2 separate regions of the Homo sapiens genome follow, and region 1 is linked to region 2. Evidence: promoter capture Hi-C in human tissues and cell types (Jung and others, 2019). All regions are on one chromosome and are shown on one strand. Each heading gives the region's core, a stretch centred on a gene start or on the middle of the fragment in contact. The rest is flanking DNA. Distances are from core to core; before and after follow the strand shown.

Region 1 (3,137 bases), core at 461-2,960, 64 kb after region 2:
CAAAATTCACAAACCTTTAGCTAGACTGACTAAGATAAAAGAAGAAAAGACTCAAATTACTAAAATCAAGAATAAAAGAGAAGGCATTAATGCCAACCTTACAGAAATAAAAGGAATTATAAGGCAATACTGTGAACAACCGTATGTCCACTAATTCAATAATTTAGATTAAATGCATAAATTCCTAGAAATATAAAAACTACTGAAACTGACTCAAGAAAAATGAGAAAATCTGGCCAAGTGGGGTGGCTCACACTTGTAATCCCAGAACTTCGGGAGGCCAAGGCAGGTGGATCACAAGGTCAGGAGATCAAGACCAGCCTGGCCAACACGGTGAAACCCCGTCTCTACTAAAAATACAAAAATTAGCCAGGCATGGTGGCACGTGCCTGTAATCCCAACTACTTGGGAGGCTGAGGCAGAAGAATCGCTTGAACCTAGGAGGCGGAGGTTGCAGTGAGCCAAGGTCACTCCATTACACTCTAGCCTGGACAACAAGAGTGAAACTGTCTCAAAAAAAAAAAAAAAAAATTCAGTCTGGGCGCAGTGGCTCATGCCTGTAATCCCAGCACTTTGGGAGGCCAAGGTGGGCGGATCACAAGGTCAAGACCATCCTGGCCAACATGGGGAAACCCCATCTCTACTAAAAATACAAAAATTAGCTGGGTGTGGTGGCACGCGCCTGTAATCCCAGCTACTCGGGGGGCTGAGGCAGGAGAATCGCTTGAACCCGGGAGACGGAGGTTGCAGTGAGCTGAGTTTGTGCCACTGCACAATCCAGCCTGGCGACAGTGGGAGACTTCATCTCAAAAAAAATAAATAAATAAAATAAATAAATAAATAGCAAGCAAAAATTAGCCAGGCATGGTGGGGCGAGTACTTCTAGTCCCAGTTACTCGGGAGGCTGAAGCAGGAGAATCGCTTGAACCTGGGAGGCAGAGGTTGCAGTGAGCCAAGACTGCACCACTGCACTCCAGCTTGGGCGACAGAGTGAGACTCTGTCTCAAAAAAAAAAAAAGAAAAGAAAAGAAAAGAAAATCGGCTGGGCGCAGTGGCTCACGCCTGTAATCCCAGCACTTTGGGAGGCTGAGGCAGGTGGATCATGAGGTCAGGAGATCGAGACCATCCTGGCTAACACGGTGAAACTGTCTCTATTGAAAATACAAAAAATTAGCCGGGCATGGTAGCGGGCGTCTGTAGTCCCAGCTACTCGGGAGGCTGAGGCAGGAGAATGGAGTGAACCCGGGAGGCGGAGCGTGCAGTGAGCCGAGATAGCGCCACTGAGTCCAGCCTGGGTGAAAGAGCGAGAATCCGTCTCAAAAAAAAAAAAAGGAAAGAAAATCAATTAATGTAGTACACTACCTTGCCTTAAAGAATGAAGGGGAGCTGGGCACGATGGCTCACACCTGTATTTCCAGGTACATGGGAGGCTGAGGTGGGAGAATTGCTTGAGCCCTGGAGTTGAAGGCTGCAGTGAGCTTTGATTGCACCACTGCACTCCAGCCTGGGTGACAGAGCAAAACCCTGTATCTAAAACAAAAAACACAAAACCAATGGTGAAAAGCTGAAAGCTTTTCCCCTAAGATCAGGAACAAGACAGAGATGCCCACTTTCACAGTTGTATTCAACACAGTACTGGCAGTCCTAGCCAGAGAAATTAGGCAAGAAAAAGAAAAGGCATCCAAATTGGAAAGGAAGAAATAGAACGATCTCTATTTGCAGATGACATTATCACATATATAGAAAATCCCAAATAATCCACAGTAAACCCTTTTATTTATTTATTTATTTAGAGACCAAGGTCTCACTTTGTCCCCAAGACTGGAGTGCACCTGTGTGATCATAGCTCACTGTAGCTTCCAACTTCTGGGCTCATGTGATCCTCCTGCCTTTGCCTTCTGAGTAGCTGGGACTACAATTATGCGCCACCATGCCTGGCTAATTTTTAAATCTTATTTTTGTATAGACAGGGCTTCACTATATTGCCCAGACTGGCAGAAAAGTTTTTTTTAATTACTAGAGTTAATAAATGAATTCAGTAAAGCAGCAGGGGACAAAGTCAACACACAAAGAACAATTGTATGTCTACTCACCAACAATGAACAATCAGAAAAAGAAATTAAGAAAATAATTCTATTTATAATAGTATCAAAAATAATAAAATACCTAGGGATAAATTTAACCAAGGAGGCAAAAGACTTATACACTAAGTTTCATTTAAATAGGACAGTGAATGTAAAAGTGTGATTAGCACAGGGCCTGACCCAAAATAGATGCTTAATGCCTATTCTCATCAGAGACACTGCTGAACGCCATAGAAAGGACAGAGTCGGCTACACCGACAGGGACAAAGTTCCTTTGGAAGTCTGGCAGCCCTGCTCCTTCCTAGGGATAGAGTTTTGCTTAGCTTTGCGGAGTGATCAGCAAGAACACCCTTAAGTTTATGAAAAGAGTCTGTGGAGTTATTTGCAGAGAAAATAGTAAGGGATAAGCTAGGAAGAAAATAAGGGAGAAACTAGAAGATACCAATAAATCAGGAATGTGGACGGCAGCTTTAAAAAGGCAAGGAACAGGCCTGACATGGTGGGTTCACGCCTGTAATCCTAGCACTTTGGGAGGCCGAGGTGGGAAGATTGCTTGAGGCCAGGAGTTCAAGACTAGCCTGGGCAACATAGCAAGACCTTGTCTCTACAAAAGAAAAAAAAATGTTTTAAAAAAATTGTAAAGGGGAAAAAAAAAAAAGCAAGGAACACAGGCTGAGTCCCAGGTACAAGAGAGCGACAGATGGGCTGCGGTCTGCGATATGCCCCAGAGTATAATCTGCCAAAAGTCCGTGGACAATTCCAGCTGAGGAGGAAGCTTCTAGGTCCTCCCAAGCCAGTCCCTTTCCCCCTAATCTGCCCACCCTTGGCATGAATGGCTAAGTAGCTCACAGGGGAGGGATTGACCTGGGCTTCTCGCTTGTTTTAAAATCCTCCTTAAAGCCAAGGGATTCTTTTGTTCAGTCTGCTTCTCTGGAAAGGGAAAATCTCTTCTGGAGGGTGACAGGCTCTGATATCCCCTGTCTAAGAAGCAAAGCCTCTTCCCAGCCCTCACAAGCCCTCTTTGAAATCTTGTCCCGGCTTCTGGAGATGAGC
Region 2 (3,478 bases), core at 562-3,061:
GTCTCAGAGTCCTCTAATCCCATGAGGAATCATATTTAAAGCCGACCAAAATTAGGTCTTTATTTTTAATTATGCAAAAAGAGAAAATTCCTTTAATATGTGCCAAAGGGAATAGGGAAAATGATAAGATTATATTCAAATTATTTGAAATTTGAAAACAAAGCAGTAAAGATCCCACTACACAGAAAGGCATGAAAATGAAAAGATTCGGGGTTGATTCAAATGGAAGAAAGCACAACTCACTTCACGGGTAACAATTTTTATTTGAGAACACAAGTTTCACAAGAAAATCATCTTTTTTTTTTAAATTGTGACTTTTATCTTAACACTGTGTGAAGTACTCAAGGTCCAAGAAGCTTAATGGTCATTTGTCAAAATAGTAATTATCCAATTTTTTCCTATGAATTATGAAATTTTTTCAAAACCAGAAATAAACCAATGAAAATAAATAAAAATTCCCTAGAATTTCCTCAATGGAATGCATGCCCCTATTACCTTTGAGTCTGATGTATATGAATTTAAACCATTTTGTAAAATTGCAAATCCAATCATACTTAATACTTCAGGTTTCCAAGCAAAGCTTGAAGCCTACAACATATTACAGGAATTATCTTTACTGACAACTGATGGAAACATCTCTAAAATAAGCTTTTGAAGTTAGTACATTAAGCCTAATTTAATATAAAGGCAATTTAATCTTATCTTCATATGAAAGAAAAATACACTGTCAGGATGAAGGATTTACTAAAGTTACAATTAACTGGAGATATATCACCAGTAAAAACCTAATTCCCTGTTATAATTAAATCAAAGCCTCATTAGGTTAGAGGGTGTGGAAGGGCATGACCCAGTGGGAGGTGGGAATCTCACCAATAAAACGCCCTCATGTGCCCCTTCCGCACAAGACCTGAGCGCCCAGTGGAAGCAGCTGGAGGACAGAGGAGCTTCCAGCAGAAGAGGTGAGCCCATGCCTGTGTGTGTGTTTTTCCTCCTTAGATGCCTAGAAATGGGGGTTATGCCTTGGGGGATGAATGAGAGAAATTCGTAATTAATGAATTCAACAAAGGCTGTCTGAGTGCTGCCTCAGAGTTGAAAACCAGTCACCCTGGATCCCCAGATCTCCAGTCTAGGAGTGGTGGCAGTCAATTTGGTATTCATTTCCAAGGCTGGAGAAGGATGTGATTTTTTTTTTTTTTTTTTTGGTGAGACAGGGTCTTAACTCTGTTGTCCAGGTTGGAGTGACCTGGTGTGATCTCTGCTCACTGCTAATTTTTCTATTATTTGTAGAGAGGGGGTCTTCCTGTGTTGCCCAGGCTGATCTCAAACTCCTTGGCTCAAGGGATCTTCCAGCCTTGGCCTCGCAAAGTGCTGGGATTACAGATGTGAGCTACTGCATCCAGTCCCTCTCTTTTTTTTTTTTTTTTTTTTTGAGATGGTGTCTCACTCTGTTGTCCAGGCCGGAGTGCAATGGCTGGATCTTGGCTCACTGCAACCTTTGCCTCCCAGGTTCAAGCAATTCTCCTGCCTCAGCCTCCCAAGTATCTGGGATTACAGGCGTGTGCCACCACGCCTGGCTAATTCTTTTGTATTTTCAGTAGAGATGGGGTTTCACCCATCAGGCTGGTCTCGAACTTTTGACGACCTCAGATGATCCACTCACGTCAGCCTCCCAAAGTGCTGGGATTATAGGCCTGAGCCACCACGCCCGGCCTCCCAGCCCCTAATTCTTATGTTCATCAATCAATCTCTTGCTGGGGTTCCCCTAGGAGGAGGTGAAATGACCCCAGCTCGCTGTTCCTCACATGGGTGCTGCCGTGTCACTGGCTCAGGCTCAGTTGCTGGGTCACCAGTAGAATGGACCCTTCCTCCACCTCAGTTCAGAGCACAGTGATGATTCGTGACTTTCTTTCCCAATAGAACTTCAAATCTCTGAAGACGGGGGGTGGGGGGATGTGCTTGAGTGTTTGTACTCATGGTCTTGTTCTAGAAGTGACAAAGCTGGGACACAATACCTTTATGCATGAAAAGGTTGTCACTTGTCACAACTAACAGGCTTTCACCTCACGGAAATTTTCTTCCCTTGTGCACTTTTCCCCTGGCAGTGGACATGGCTGCACTCTTCCAAGAAGCAAGCAGCTGTCCCGTCTGCTCAGACTATCTAGAGAAACCAATGTCCCTGGAGTGTGGATGCGCTGTCTGCTTCAAGTGCATCAATTCACTGCAGAAGGAGCCCCATGGGGAGGATCTACTTTGCTGTTGCTGTTCCATGGTCTCTCAGAAGAACAAAATCAGGCCCAGTTGGCAGCTAGAGAGGCTGGCTTCCCACATCAAGGAACTGGAGCCCAAGCTGAAGAAGATTCTGCAGATGAACCCAAGGATGCGGAAGTTCCAAGGTGAGGGATCTGTATACACTGCCCCCTTCCTACGACCAGACCAGGAAAAATCATCTGTGCAACTGGCCCCTCATTCCATATGGGGATTAGCTGCTGTCTGGCACCTAAAATTGAGATGCTTCTTCATCATCAGATTCTCAGCCCTGACAACATACAGAATCACCTGGTGATCTCCAAAAAAAAGGCTGGCTGGGCATGGTGGCTCATGCCTGTAATGTCAGCACTTTGGGAGGCCGAGGCGGGTGGATCACGAGGTCAGGAGATCGGGACCATCCTGGATAACACGGTGAAACCCTGTCTCTACTAAAAATACAAAAAATTAGCCAGGCTTGGTGGTGGGTGCCTGTAGTCCCAGCTACTTGGGGGTTGAGGCAGGAGAATGGCGTTAACCTGGGGGGGGCGGAGCTTGCAGTGAGCCAAGATTGCACCACTGCACTCCAGCCTGGGTGACAGAGTGAGACTCCGTCTCAAAAAAAAAAACCTGATGTCTATGTCATGGGTTAGACAAGGGATTCTCTAAACTTAGTGTGCTCAGATTACCTGGGGATCTTGTTAAAATGCAGATGCTGAACTGGGAAGTCTCAGGATTGATCCCGCTGGCTTGGGGACTTTGCTGAGTAGCAAAAACACAGAGCAACTTAATTTGAATTTCTCTCTAGCAAAGGTTCCCAGGACTCTGACATTTAAATGGGCCTGGTAATTCTAATGCACAGTGAGTATTGGCACCCACTGTACCAAACAACCTCACCCCAGGGTTGGGAAGAGTTTGGAATGGAGCACCTATGGTGTTTGTTTCTGTGAGTGGGGCGAGTTGCAGACGCTGGTCTCCTCATCGGTGTGCCATGGACTTCAACAGGGGTCCTGGCTACAGAAAATACTATCACTCTCCATAACTCTGGGGAATAGGGACATTTAAATGAAGAGGTTATGGTCAGCCTGGGCAAAGAATTACACCTATAAATGGTGGTGGCTTCTGCCCTGACACCCATGATCTCTACTCATCCACCTACCCATACCTGACTGTGTCTCTGCTGAAATATGGAGGACAGATTCACCCTGCCTAAGTCATGTTTGGAACCCTCTTC

The links. The method cuts DNA at HindIII sites, captures the fragments that hold promoters and counts their contacts. A contact is called where the count stands out against the background at its distance.
Region 1: a fragment that was not itself captured here is called in contact with the fragment with the promoter of RFPL1 in region 2 in 3 of the 25 tissues and cell types used here (lymphoblastoid cells, neural progenitor cells and spleen).

The regions. Positions count from the first base shown.
Region 1 is chr22:29,501,017-29,504,153 of GRCh38, forward strand. No RefSeq gene overlaps it. Among named protein-coding and RNA genes, the nearest start is that of NEFH, 22 kb to the left of the region's middle. The HindIII fragment of the contact is 4,153 bases long and covers 1-3,137 here.
Region 2 is chr22:29,436,772-29,440,249 of GRCh38, forward strand. RFPL1 (ret finger protein like 1) reads left to right here and starts at 1,812. Exons shown (of 2, transcript NM_021026.2): 1 at 1,812-2,393. The coding sequence starts at 2,021. It overlaps RFPL1S (RFPL1 antisense RNA 1), which reads right to left. Exons shown (of 1, transcript NR_002727.2): 1 at 244-3,478. The HindIII fragment of the contact is 25,280 bases long and covers 1-3,478 here.